2 separate regions of the Homo sapiens genome follow, and region 2 is linked to region 1. Evidence: promoter capture Hi-C in 16 types of primary human blood cells and fetal thymus (Javierre and others, 2016). All regions are on one chromosome and are shown on one strand. The core of a region is centred on a gene start or on the middle of the fragment in contact, and the rest is flanking DNA. Distances in the headings are between cores, read along the strand shown. Region 1 holds the start of HDGFL3 (HDGF like 3). Region 2 overlaps BTBD1 (BTB domain containing 1).

What was found. The method cuts DNA at HindIII sites, captures the fragments that hold promoters and counts their contacts. A CHiCAGO score of 5 or more calls a contact.
Region 2: a contact is called between a fragment that was not itself captured here and the fragment with the promoter of HDGFL3 in region 1, in 1 of 17 cell types (erythroblasts). The highest score is 5.5, in erythroblasts.

The regions. Positions count from the first base shown.
Region 1 is chr15:83,201,775-83,209,072 of GRCh38, reverse strand. HDGFL3 (HDGF like 3) reads left to right here and starts at 1,250. Exons shown (of 6, transcript NM_016073.4): 1 at 1,250-1,742. The coding sequence starts at 1,659. RefSeq lists an enhancer at 339-952 and silencers at 813-1,152, 1,543-1,992. The HindIII fragment of the contact is 15,661 bases long and covers 1-2,418 here.
Region 2 is chr15:83,028,693-83,035,990 of GRCh38, reverse strand. It overlaps BTBD1 (BTB domain containing 1), which reads left to right. Exons shown (of 8, transcript NM_025238.4): 5 at 5,663-5,855. The region is part of intron 1 of LOC124903542 (a long non-coding RNA gene); the gene reads right to left. Among named protein-coding and RNA genes, the nearest start is that of C15orf40, 21 kb to the right of the region's middle. The HindIII fragment of the contact is 3,430 bases long and covers 1,776-5,205 here.

The sequences.
Region 1 (7,298 bases), core at 1-2,500:
ACAAGAGCAGGAGTTAAAACACACACACACCATTCTACAAGGCCAGAGAGGGGGGCGGATGGTGGGGAAAACTGTAGCTTCTGTAAAAGGGAGAGAGAACAGACACAAATGAGAACTGTCCGTGTGACAAGGTGAGGGCCACAGAAAGCAGCATTTAGGAGCTATGCCAGCTGACCCCTTAAAGGAGGTGGGTTACAGCATGATTAAAGAAGCAGCATTCGTTCATTGGACAGACTCCAAACGATTCCTTGAATTATTCTACTTACTCCTCACAAAAGAGAGTGTTAGGAAGATTCCTACTCTCAAAATGTCTTTGAAAGCAGCCAGCTAGGGAATTTAGAGTAAAATAGTGGTAAATGAACATGTTCTAGAGCTAATGAACTGTATATGTACATACATCTCCAGAAAGGGATGCTAATTTCAAAAACGTTGTCCAAAAGGTTGCCAGGATTGGAAACAAGTGACCGGCCAGTGCAAGTCCTTTTCACAAACACTGCAGGCCTAGAAAACGCACACAGAGAGAAACATAATCGCTTATGGACTTTGGACTCATGTGGATACAGGTTCGAATCCCGTCTGTGCCACTCAGCAAATGAGAAAACCTCCCATGACTCCGATTAAATAGCTCGCCCTAGGTGGGTCACACTGCATTGTTAAGGGCAGACCTGGGGCAAGAATCCAATAAGGTCGCTGACTCCGGAGCGGTGCTCTTTCCGGCAGCTTGGTGCCCAGCAGAGGGTCCCCTCGCGCCGCCGTCCCCCAGGCCTGGAGCGCCTTTGTCCCCCACTCACCAGAGAGCAGCCGCGGAAGTGGCTGGCTGGGGGTAGCCAGGAGAGGGTCGAGTCAGCGGGAGGTGGGCGTGGGAGCGGGGGGCGCGAGTGGGGAGAACCCCCAGAGTGGCACGGACGGGAGGGGAAGGGGGCGGCCGGGTGGTGATTGGCTGGGCTGCGGCAGGCAGCTCCGGGCCAAGAACAAAAGAGAGCAGGCGGCGGGCGTCCTCCGGAGTAGGCACTCCCGCCCGCCCGGCGCGGGCTTCGGTGCTGGGGGAGGACGCGCCCACCGCCCGCCCGCCAGCCGAGAAGCCGGGCTGGCGCGCTCGGTTTCTCCGCGAAAGCCGGCCGTGTACCTAGGAATTAACCGGCCCGCGCGGGAGGGAAGGGGAGGGGAGCGGGAAGCGGGAAGCGGGGCGGGGGGGGGATGCTGAGCGCGCGCGAGAACAATAATAAGATCGTGTTTGCGGTCGCTGCCCGAGAAGGAATTCGGAGCAGACGCGAGGCCCGGCGCTCGCGCCGCGCCCGGGAGCCCGGGAGGGAGACCGGCAGCGGCGGCATGAGGCAGGCGACGCGGCGCTGGTGAGCAGCGCGCGCGGCGGCGGCGGCGGCGGCGGCGGGGACCTTGGCGCGGCCGGACGCGGGCGAGCGCCGAACGGCCGGGGGCTCCCCTCCCCCGCTGCCGGGCCGTGATTTGCCGGGCCTGCTGCGCCCCCCGCCCACCCCTTGCCTCAGCCGCCGCCTCGCCGCTTCCCCTCGTCGGAGCGGCCGCTCGTCCGCCCGGCTTGAGGCCCGCGGGGAGCGCGGCGCAATTCGTCGGCCCGCGGGGGGGCGGCCTCCCGGCATCTTCGCGGCGACCAAGGACTACCAGGAAGGGGAGCGGCTGGGATGGCGCGTCCGCGGCCCCGCGAGTACAAAGCGGGCGACCTGGTCTTCGCCAAGATGAAGGGCTACCCGCACTGGCCGGCCCGGGTGAGTACCGCGGCCGCGCGCGGGCCCGCCCGCCCACCATTTTCCCCTTCATGATGGCGCGCCCGCCCCCTTTCCCCATCGCCTCAGCCCCGAGCCCGCAGCTCGCGGCCGGCTGTGGTGAGGGCTGAGGGCGGCGCGGCACGAAGAAGACCGGGCCGGGGCTGAGGCAAGGGCTCCCGGCCTCGCCCGCACTCCGCCAGGGCGGCCATCCTTCCGCCCACTTTCGAAGGCGGGTCCGGCCCCCGCAGGCCCGACGCTGCCTTCCTCCTGGAAAGCCGGTGCCGACCGGGAAGCCACGCCGCCGGGCAGCGGGCCTGCGACGGAGGCTTCGGCTCCGGGCAGGGTCATTGGTGGATACCCTGGGTCCCGGGCGAACGTCGGGGCAGGTACGGCAGCGGGGTGAGCGGCTGTCCGCGAGCCGGCGAGTGCCGGCGGGCAGTAAATCCTGGAAAGTGGTAGTGGTCATCCAGAGGCCAGCGGGAGCCTCTTGGCAGTCATTCATCCATCTCTTTGCCTTCTAGACTTGTTGAGTTTTCCCTGAGCGCGATTCCCGGTGCCCCGCCTGCCCTATCATTGTCCTGGGGTACGTGCCTCTCTGGTGCCCATCGTTCTTTTAAACCGACCTCTGATAGCCGAGAGCTTGCAGCCTACCTCTGACTGGTGGGTCCAGCAAGCTTCTTGTGCCTTTCCACCTCCATATTTGTTTTAGGTAGAATCTCAAACCTTATTCTTGGCCTCCTGCTACAGTCCACAATAGCTCTCTCTTCCTACATAACAAGGTTGTCGTTGGGCTCTTTTTCTAGAAAGCGTCTGCATGTAATACATAGCATTCACAATTTTTATTAAGCTCTTTGAGGAAGACACACAACACTGCCATGTGTGCTTTGTGTTTTAGAAGAAATCCTTTTTATTTTTATTTTTGTATGGTTGGCAGTTGATTGCTTGAAATAAGAAATCTTGTGAAAAGGAGGGTCAAGGCATTCTAGAGATTATATTGGTATTCTTTAGGAACGGAAACAGTCATGGAGAAAATTGGCATAAATATAGTGTGAGCTCTAAAATGTTGTATTGTAGTCAAGTGAAGATAGCAAGATCAAGAAAAAAAAATACACCCATTCACAAAAGGAAGTGACATCACGAGTGGCCAGACTGAAATTTAGTGAAGTTGAAGTAATGGATGGACATAATCACTTTTTAAATATTTGGTTTGGCATGATTGTCAAATGGAAAGAACACTAGGCCAGGAATTGGGGGACCTGGTGTCTGGTTCAGGCTCTGTTATGGACTAATCATTTCAACTGTCTGCATATCCATTGCTGCAACTATAAAATCATCTCTAGGATCCTTTCCAACACTAACAACCTCAGATATCAAGAGGAAAAAACAGTCTTATTCAGGTTCCAGTAGACTGAAAATAGCTTCGCATCTGAACTGTAGATTGTCCTTAAGATAAGGCAAAGTTTTTAAGGTAGAATAACTGGTTATTTTTTATGCTGTAATACAGTATTGCTTAGAGAGGCAAGATTTGTGACTTTAGGAGTCCCTGAATATATTTGTGACTTCAGAAAATCCCCGAATCTGTTTGCCAAGTAAGAAATGTATAGCTTTAGGGCCATATGTGTATAAACACAGTCAAAGCCAATTAAAGGTTACCGTTACTAGTTGGTCATTTCCTAGTACCATAATGGCTTTTTAAAATCTTCCCTTTGAAAAATATCTTCTGATAGTCAAAAAGAAAATAGACTTAAAATTTCATTAATATGTTGCCTGTACAGGTTGGCCACCTGTAGTAATTTGTGAAACAGAAAAATCCTACGGAAGTGGTCCTAGTTGTATATCTAATTGTACATAAAATTCCTGGAAGTGATAATTCCAAATAAGGCAAAATGGAAAATAAAATGAGGAAACAAAATTAAGTTTTTAGATAAAATAGGTACAAGAAAGAAAAATCTGTATCTATTCACATTTAACGAGCTCCTCAAGAAACAACCTAAGACTCAAAAAAAGAAGTTTTATTTTCTCGTTAGTGGCATGCTGCAATTTCCAAAGGTAAAGGTTAGAAAAAGATTTGAGTCCCCTTTTTTACAGTGCGTATACTTCACATATGTTTTCATTTTTTTCATCCCAATTCTATGAGGCATTATTCCCATCTTACACCTAGGTATAGCTGTGTAGATGATAATGTTATAAAATGCTAACTGGGAAAAAAAGTCTTGCTTATTGAAGTTTCAAATATTATCACTTGATACGAAGGCCATTCATGTGGGCATTAGATACTGTGGGGCGCCAAGGACTCAAACTTAGGAGGGAAACCAGGAAGAAACAGATTTCAGAGTACATGTTGTAGGAAGGCACTTTGTATTAGAGCTGGTTCATACAGGAATGGAGAAGCAACTTCCTTGCTCTAGGGAAGATGTTTGGTCCTAGGCAGCCCTTTGTGAGGAATGTAGGTCAAGAGGATTCAGAATTCCTACAGGTTGGATTCAGCTCTTGGCTGGGCTTCACACTGTGACCTTGTGCATGTTCTGTAATCTTTCTAAGTTTCTGTTTACTCGTCTGTAAAATAAAGATAATTCTCACCTCACAAATACAGAGTATCTAAAAGCACCAAGTGATGGTACTTGTATGTTCCTACCTTTTTCCTTTTTGAATTTCTAACTTTCCTTTGTATCACTACACTATTTTAAATTATTGTCAACTTTCAACTCAGATTTATTTTTCCAATATTTTATCCTGAAAAATTTCGAATATATAGATAAGTTTAAAAAATTGAACTGTGAAGACCCATTTATCTACACCTAGATTCTACAATTAAATTTCATTCTACTTGCTCTTTCATGCATCTGTTCATATATCCTCCCTCTATCTACATAATAGTTCCTCTTATTTTAATGCATTTCAAGGTAAGTTGCACACATCGCCATAATTTACTCCTAGACACATGCATGCCATTAACCTAGTGGTTAATACTTTGAATGGATCCTTTTCTCTTTTGAGGTAAAATTTACATGGAATGGAATGTACTTACCTTAACTGTACCATTCGGTGAGTTTGACAAATGTATACATTGGTATAATATAAATATAGCTCTCTATATGATATATGTCTGATATATATAAGTATATGTGATACATATATATAATATAAATACATAAATACATTGACATAATACCTACCAAGGTATAGAACAGTGCCTACGAAAGTACTCTCATGCCTCTTTCTGGTAGATTCCTGTCCTCCTCCTTCCTTCTCCCCCATTGTTCAGATGTATTATTCTAACATTAAATAGCAGCTGGCTGTTTCTCATCTAGTATGCCTAATTTTGTGTGGCTTTAAAAATTAGAAGTTCATCTATGTTATGGATTAGCTAGCTTAATGTTAAAAAGTACTGAGGCTAAAACGAGTCTCTGATCGCTTTTGTTTGTGTACCCTGTTGGTAAAATAATTTGAGCATACATCACTAATATATCTAAATTTTCTTTATATATACATGTGCTTTCTGTTACTACTATATACAGCATAAAATAAACACAAAAAGAAACTAAAAGGGATGACATGATGAAAACAATATGTTTTAAAATTTTCATTGCACAATATCGTTAACAGTAATAATACTTATTATTACTTATAGGTTAAGTTCATATTTTTTAAAGTCTTAATTTTTGGAATATTTTCTGCCTGCTTCTTGTGAGATTTGACTAGATGGATGGTCATTGTTCTTAACTTCCGAAGAGATTTTCTAGAATAGAAGTGTCAGCTTAGACATTTACCTTGTTGTTTGCTTGCATCTACATTACTAATATTATTTTTGTGTAGGAATCTTTCTTTTTTTTAGCCACCTGTTCATTTGGTGAGAGCTAGTTCAGTTAGAAGTAGATATTCCATAATCCTGCTCAACCGGGCACACACCAAATGGCAGTAAATCACAGTATACTCAACGTGAATAAACATAACCATCTGAATAAGAATACTATTAATAGTGTCAACTTGCATATAAAATACTAGTAAAATTTACTTTTTAGCTAAAAGAGTAAGAAACTGAAATCAAAATTCTGTTTTCTTCCCATACCCCACCCAAACCTTCCGCTGAGATGTGAGCACTCTGCTTATGTTACCCCCTACTCTAAAAGGTCAGAAAACAATGTAAACGAAAAGCCTCAAAATTATTGTGCTTTAACTAAAGCACTTTTTTACACTTAAAAACTTTATATGAGAATTATCAAATATTGCTAGTAGAGTGTATTGATAGTTACTTAAGAAAACTGACTTAATCTACATATGCTTACCTTGTGACCTAGCAGTCTCTTCTAGGCATATACCCAAGAGAAATGAGTGTTTATATTCACCAAAATACTGTACAAGAATGCTCATACATAACAACTTTCTTCATGATAGAACAGGAAACAACCCAAATGTCCATCAGCAGGAGAATGAGTAAACAAATTTGTAGTATATTCACATAGTGGAGTACTATTTGACAATAAAAAGGAATAAATTACTGATACAGTGGTCACTGGTTTGTAGTGGGTAGAAAGGAGTTATTGAATAGGAGAAGGCACTGGAAATGTTCCCTGTCTTGATCTGGATGGTGTTACATGGATGTGTACATATGTAAAAATGTATCAAGCTGTACATTTAAGATTTGTGCACTATACTGTATGAAAGTTATACCTCAATTTAAAAAACACATTTTATATGAGTTAGGGAGAAAGGAGAACTAATACTTCTACATGGATTAAATTTCACTATTTTTAGCTTTCAGTGAGTTGTTTTTTTTCCTTCGAGTCCTCACTCCTACCAAGCTGCATCTTCCTATTCCCTTTTGACTTATTATAGAAACTTCATTTTCTACTTTAGAGCATTCTCTTTAGACTTTCTTTGAGTTCTGGTTTCAGCCTGTCTGGTTTGTTTACCTGCATCAGTGTCTTTCTCTTCCTTTAATATTAAATCACTGCTTATCATATTTTTGATCTAGCTTTCTTTAACCTCTCACTTTGTAAAGCATAAGAATAAAGCATTTGACCTTCCTATTTATATAGCTTCAAGAGCTGAGCTCTTACTGAACTTTTGTTGAGCACCTACTGTATGTAAGGCACAGGGGTATAGTTTTTTCATATCTCTAGCAATAGATTAAATTTGCAGCAATTCTAAAACATGATTATGAAGTGTTTCCATACCCTTTATTAATATAAATATTTGTTGGGAATCTTCCTTTTCTGATCCATAGCACTTTCAGGTTTTTTGCATTTGACAATGATCTACTAAGAAGGTGATAAATTTATTTCTGGAGACCAGGCCACATTATTTTCAGAGAATCATTTGGGACTTAAGTTCTTTTTAATCTCAACATAAAGTAAGGTGTTTATAATCTTCATTACTTTGGCCTAAGAAGTACATCAGTTGTTCAGTCCTGGCACAAGCTCACTCAGTCTTTTTCCCAGGGACTACTTTCACTTTGCCAAGGATTTGGCAAATTGTCTCATTTTCTCCCACTTAATCTGGGAGCTCATAGGAACTTTAAACTTTTGATACCAATATGTTCATTTTCCGATGCTC
Region 2 (7,298 bases), core at 2,241-4,740, 180 kb after region 1:
ATTATCCTTTTTATATATTACTGGATTTAATTTGCTGAATTTTTAATGTATTTTTATGACTACTGAATGAGAGAAATTAGTCTATATATATTTTTTTTTCTTGCAATGAAATTGTCAAAATTGTCCTCATACAAAAGTTAGAAATATTTCCTTTTTTTCCCCCAGTGTTCAAGAGTTTGTATTATTAATTTTCTCCTGGAACCAACTTCTAGCTTTATTAATTTTCTCTATTACAGTATGTTTTCCATTTCATTACTTTCTGCCTTTTTCTTTATTACTTTCTTTCCTTTCTTTGCTTTTAATTTGCTGGGGTTATTTATTTTATTAGTCTTTGTGACTTTTTGAGATACTTAGAAGGTCAACCTATATTCTTTTTGAATGCATATATTTAAGTGTATATTTTTTCTCTCAGCATCCTTCCCCCCCACAGTTTTTAATATGTGTATTTTCATTAGCATTCGATTAAGAATTTTTAATTTTTGCTTTTTTTTTCTTTGACTCATAAATTATAGATAACTTAATTTCCAAATATTTGAGATTTCTTCTTATCTTGCTCTTGCTGATTTCTGTCTTAATTCCAGTATAGTCAGAAAATATATTCTATATCATTTCAATGCTTTGAAATTTGTTGATATCTGCTTTGGCCCAGCATATGGTAGTTTTATTTATTTTTTATTATTTTGTTTTATTTATTTTTGAGACAATGTCTCACTCTGTCACCCAGGCTGGAGTGCAGTGGCATGATCTTGGCTCACTGTAACCTCCGCCTCCTGGGGTCCAACGATTCTCCTGCCTCAGCCTCCCCGGTAGCTGGGATTACAGGCATGCGGTGCCACGCTCGGCTAATTTTTATATTTTTAGTAGAGACAGGGTTTCACCATGTTGGCCAGACTGGTCTCAAACTCCTGACCTCAGGTGATCCACCCATCATGGCCTCCCAAAATGCTAGGATTACAGGCATGAGCCACCGTGCCTGGCCCATACGGTAGTTGTAATAAGTATCCATGTATACTTGAGAAGAATGTATTCTTCTTTGTTATGTGCAGAAAAACCTGAATAGTCCTGTATCTGTTCAACAGATTGAATACTATATCTATGAAAGGAATATATACTAATGATCTTCAAATTTTCTATGTATCTATCTATTGATTTGCTTTTTGTTCTATCAGTTACTAAAAGAAGTAGATTTAAATCTCAGGGTATGATTGAGAATGTGTTTCCTTTTGGTTCCATCAGTTTTCTTCTTTATTTTCTTCTTTATTTTAGGTACCTTCAAATTTAGGATTTTTTTTTATATTGAATTTGCTTCTTTATCTTTACAGTCTATCTCATCTTAAATCTAAACTTATTGTGGGTTTTTGTTTTTTATTTTATTTTTTGAGACAGTCTCCCTCTGTCACCCAGGCCGGAGTTCAGTGGCACAATCTTGGCTCACTGCAACGTCCACCTTCTGGGTTCAGGCAATTCTCATGCCTCAGCCTCCTTAGTAGCTGGGACTACATGTGTGCACCACCACACCCTGCTAAATTTTGTATTTTTAGTAGAGATGGGGTTTTGCCATGTTGGCCAGGCTAGTCTCGAACTCCTGGCCTCAAATGATCAGCTTGCCTCAGTCACCCAACATTCTGGCATGAGCCACCACGCCTGGCCTAAACTTCTTGTTTTAAAGTCTTTGTCTGATATTGGTATAGTTTCTCAAGGTTTTTTAAATTCTATATCTTTCTCATCCTTTTACTTTTAGCCTTACATTATTTTGACCATGTCTCTTGTAAGCTTCATTTTTAAAAAATTCAGTCTGACAGACTTTGCCTTTTATTTGGAATATTTGGTTCACTTTATATTTAATATGATTAATAGTCTATTAAACTTTCTTTTTCTTTTTCTTTTTTTTTTTTTTTTTGGTGTAGACAGTGTCTCCTCTGTCACCCAGGCTGGAATGCAGTGGCATGATCTCAGCTTACTCCAGCGTCAACCTCCTGGGCTCAGGTTATCCTCCCACCTCAGCCTCCCGTATTAAAGATTCTTTTATTATTATTTTAGTGGGTTGCCCTTGTTATTACAAGAATATATCCTTATTGATTTTTAAATTAAATCTTAAAAATTAAATTTTTTAGATGGGGCACAGTGGCTCATGCCTTTAGTCCCAGCACTTTGGGAGGCTGAGGCAGGTAGATTGTTTGAGTCGAGTTCAAGACCAGCCTCGGCAAAATGGCGAAACCCTGTCTTTACAAAAAAAAATTTAAAAATTAGCCTGGAGTGGTGGTACACACCTGTAGTCCCAGCTACCTGGGGGGCTGAGGTGGGGATCACTTGAGCCCAGGAGTTCAAGGCTGCAGTTAGCCGTGATCACACCACTGCACTCCATACCTGGGCAACAGTGAGACCCTGTCTCTAAATAAATAAATAAAATTAAAATTTTTAAATTAAAATTTTCTACACAATATAAAGGCATTATTGATACTTTTGCTATATTTAACCTTCTCTAGCCTTTGGTGCTACTATTTCATGTATTTTAATGTTTCATATGTTATAAAGCCCACAAAACATTATTTTTAAAGTCAATAATCCTTTTGATTTGCCTATATATTTGCCCTTTCAGTTATCTTCATTTTTTTCTGTATGACCAGATGTGTGCTTCTATCTGGGCACATTTCTGTTAGCTTGAAGAATTCTCTTCAATATTTCTTTTAAAACAGGTAGGATACTAACCAGATTCTCTCAACTCTTTTTTTCTTTTGTCTAAAAACATCTTTATCTTACCATTTTTTTTAAAAAAAGAGATGGGGCCCTGCTGTGTTTCCCTGGCTGGAGTGCAGTGGCTATTCACAGCTTCAAAATTCTGGCCTCAAACAATCCTCCCACCCCAGCCTCCTGAGTAGCTGGGACTAGAGGGGCACACTGCTGAGCCCAGCTTGCCTTCATTTTTGAAGGATATTTTTCTGGGTAGAAAGCTCAAGGTTGACAGTTATTCCCATCTATCATTTGAATGCAATTCTATTCTGTTTTTTTTTTTTTTTTTTTGAGACAGAGTAAGACTGTCACCCAGCCTGGAGTGCAGTGGCACAATTTCATCTCAGTGCAACCTCCACCTTCCAGGTTCAAGTGATTCTCCTGCCTCAGCCTCCTTAGTAGCTAGGATCACAGGCACCCACCACCGCCCTTGGCTAAATTTTGTGTTTTTAGTAGAGATGGGGTTTCACCATGTTGGGGAATGGTACCAAACATGTAGGCTTTTATCGCTCACCTCCCTCCTACCATTCCCCCCAAGTCCCCAAAGTTCATTATATCATTCTTAGGCCTTTGCCTCCTCATAGTTTCTTAGCTCCCACTTATAAGTAAGACCATATGGTATTTGGTTTTCCATTCCTGAGTTACTTCACTTAGAATAATGGCCTCCAAGTTCATCCAAGTTGCTGCAAAAGCCTTTGTTTCGTTCCATTTTATGGCTGAGTAGTATTCCATGGTGTATGTATACCACATTTTCTTCATCCAGTTGTTGGTTGATGGGCATTTAGGTTGGCTCCATATTTTTGCAGTTGGTAGTGCTGCTATAAACATGTACGTGCAAGTATCTTTTTCATGTAATGACTTATTTTCCTTTGGGTAGGTATCCAGTGGTGGAATTGCTGGATCAAATGGTAGTTCTAATTTTAGTTCTTTTTTTTTTTTGGAGACAGAGTCTCGCTGTGTTGCCCAGGCTGGAGTGCAGTAGTGCGATCTCGGCTCACTGTAACTTCTGCCTCGCAGGTTCCAGTGATTCTCCTGCCTCAGCCTCCCGAGTAGCTGGGACTACAGGCGCACATCACTGCACCCAACTAATTTTTGTATTTTTGTTAGAGATGGGGTTTCACCATGTTGGTCAGGCTGGTTTCAAACTCCTGACCTTGGGATCTGCCTGCCTCGGCCTCCCAAAGTGCTGGGATTACAGGCATGAGCCACCACCCCCAGTCCTTTTTAGTTCTTTAAGGAATCTCCATACTGTTTTCCTTAGTGGTTGTACTAGTTTACATTCCCACCAGCAGTGTAAAAGAGTTCCCTTTTCACCATATTCACGCCAACATCTATTTTTCTTTTTTTATTTTTTAATTATGGCCATTCTTGCAGGAGTAAGGTGGTACCTTATTGTGGTTTTAATTTGCCTATGTATGATAATCAGTGATGAGCATTTTTTCTTATGTGTATTGGCCGCTTGTATATCTTCTTTTTTTTTTTAATTATACTTTAAGTTCTAGGGTACATGTGCACAACGTGCAGGTTTGTTACATACGTATACGTGTGCCATGTTAGTATGCTACACCCATTAACTTGTCATTTACATTAGGTATATCTCCTAATGCTATCCCTTCCCCCTCCCGCTGCCCCACAGCAGGCCCCGGTATGTGATGTTCCCCTTCCTGTGTCCAAGTGTTCTCACTGTTCAGTTCGCACCTATGAGTGAGAACATGCGGTGTTTGGTATTTTGTCCTTGTGATAGTTTACTGAGAATGATGGTCTCCACCTCCATCCATGTCCCTATAAAGGACACGAACTCATCATTTTTTATGGCTGCATAGTATTCCATGGTGTATATGTACCACATTTTCTTAATCCAGTCTATCATTGATGGACATTTGGGTTGGTTCCAAGTCTGCTGGGCGAAGGATATGAACAGACACTTCTCAAAAGAAGACATTTATGCAGCCAACAGACACATGAAAAAGTGCTCATCATCACTGGCCATCAGCAAAATGCAAATCAAAACCACAATGAGATACCGTCTCACACCAGTTAGAATGGTGATCATTAAAAAGTCAGAAAACAACAGATGCTGGAGAGGATGTGGAGAAATAGGAACACTTTTACACTGTTGGTGGGGCTGTAAACTAGTTCAACCATTGTGGAAGATAGTGTGGCGATTCCTCAAGGATCTAGAACTAGAAATACCATTTGACCCAGCCGTCCCATTACTGAGTATATACCCAAAGGATTATAAATCATGCTGCTATAAAGACACATGCACACGTATGTATAGCTTCCTTTGAGAATTGTCTCTTCATGTCCTTTGCCCACTTTGTGCTGGGATTATTTGTTTTTTTTTTCTTGCTGATTTGAGTTGTAGATTCTGGATATTAGTCCTTTGTTGGATGCATAGTTTGCAAATATTTTCTCCCACTCTGTGGGTTGTCTGTTTGCTCTGCTGATTATTTATTTTGCTATGCAGAAGCTTTTTAGTTTAATTAGGTCTCATTCATTTGTTTTTGTTTTTGTTGCATTTGCTTTTGGGTTCTTAGTCATGAATTCTTTACCTAAGCCAATGTCTTGAAGAGTTTTTTTGATGCTATCTTCTAGAATTTTTATGGTTTCTTAGATTTAAGTCTTTGATCCATCTTGAGTTGATTTTTGTATAAGGTGAGAAAGGAGGATTCCTGGCATCCATGAGGAATAGCATTTATTCCTGGATCTAAGTTTTGACTAATTAATGCTTTTAACATTTTAATTAATGTGTTTAACCTCAAATGGATTTATTGAAACCTTAAAATATATGCAAAAATTATATATGCTAAGATTTTTTTCCCCTATTTTTATGTTACGTCCTCTAGATTTGAATTTACGTTAAGTGAATTCCAAAGTTAGGAATTGAAATCAAATTCCTTTTTTTAGGCTTATGTTTTTATTTCCACAGGTCCTGCTCAATCTGGAATTTTGTCAGATCGTGAAGTGGTAAACCTCTTTCTTCATTTTACTGTCAACCCTAAACCCCGAGTTGAATACATTGACCGACCAAGATGCTGTCTCAGGGGAAAGGAATGCTGCATCAATAGATTCCAGCAAGTAGAAAGCCGCTGGGGTTACAGTGGGACGAGTGATCGAATCAGGTATCTGTTATATTGGGGATGCGGGGGTAGAGTGGGGGTAGCAGTTACCATTTGGCCTTTTTTATATATTATGGGAGATAATTAACCAACATTTCATTTTATACTTCATTTAATACACTTTTAAGTTAAGTTAATATAGGAGTCAAGAAGTCACTGAGGCATCCTGCCCTCCTCACTGATTTATGAGTGAGGGTGACTTCTTAAGAAAAAAATAGAGTAAGAAAGGATTGGGTTGGACCTTCTGTTACGTGATTTTTTTGTTTTTCCCCAAGATGGAGTCGCTCTGTCACTCAGGCTGGAGTGCAGTGGTGGGATCTCTCACACTGCAACCTCCGCCTTCTGGGTTCAAGCGATCCTCCCACCTCAGCCTCCTGAGTAACCTGTAAGGCATGCATCACCACGCCCAGCTAATCTTTTTGGATTTTTAGTAGAGACGGGGTTTCACCATGTTGTCCAGGCTGGTCTCGAACTACTGACCTCAAGTGATCCACCTGCTTCAGCCTTCCAAAGTGCTGGGGTTACAGGGGTGAGCCACCACGCCCAGCTGTTACATGATTTTTGTTTGGATCACCACTGCCAGTGGGCTGAGTTCTAGACCTTAATTGATCAAACGTTATTTTTACAGGCTTAGGGCTACAATTAATAAATGTAACCTTACTATGTTTAGTGTGAGTTTTTTCTTTGCATAGATGTTGCAGGGAAAGTATCTCAGTATACATTTATAAAAGCCTTGAGAAAAAAATCAAGAATCTTGAAAAATGCATGCGTATAATCCTGTTGAAGAAATTGTCTTTGCTGTACTGTGTTTCTTTAGGTTGAATGTCAAAATAGAATCAGTGCCGGTTTTCACAAAACATGACTTTTGGATTTTCATTTATTTAATAGCACTTCAGTATAAAACTGGAAATTAACAAGTTTGTTAAAACAGAAAAATCTGGTTGGATGTGGGACTATTATAAATCTTAAGTTAACATGGAAATTAAAAATGTACTTGTAGACTATTTAATAATAATTCACAATAACTATATGCAAAAATTATGGGATGAGGCCAAAGCTGCACACAAAGAAAAAGTAATAATTAACTACTTGTAGTAAATAGAGTAGAAATAAATGATTTAAGCATTCAGCCCAAGTAGCTAGAAAACAAATAGCAAAAGAACTATAAGAAAAGAGAAAGTAAATAGATAAATGTAGAAATTAATGAATTAGAAATAGTAGAATTCATAAATCCATAAGCTGGTTCCTTTAAAAGACCAATAAAATAAATAAACCTCTGGCAAAGGTAATAAACATTCACATTTAGAAGCAAAAATGGGAATATAATTATATGCTGACATTTTTATTTTAATTCTGGGTTTATTCTGTGCTAATAAATTGAACATGTTGATGGAATGGATCATTTTATAGGCAAATATAAATTATCAAAATTGACTGAAGAAGAAA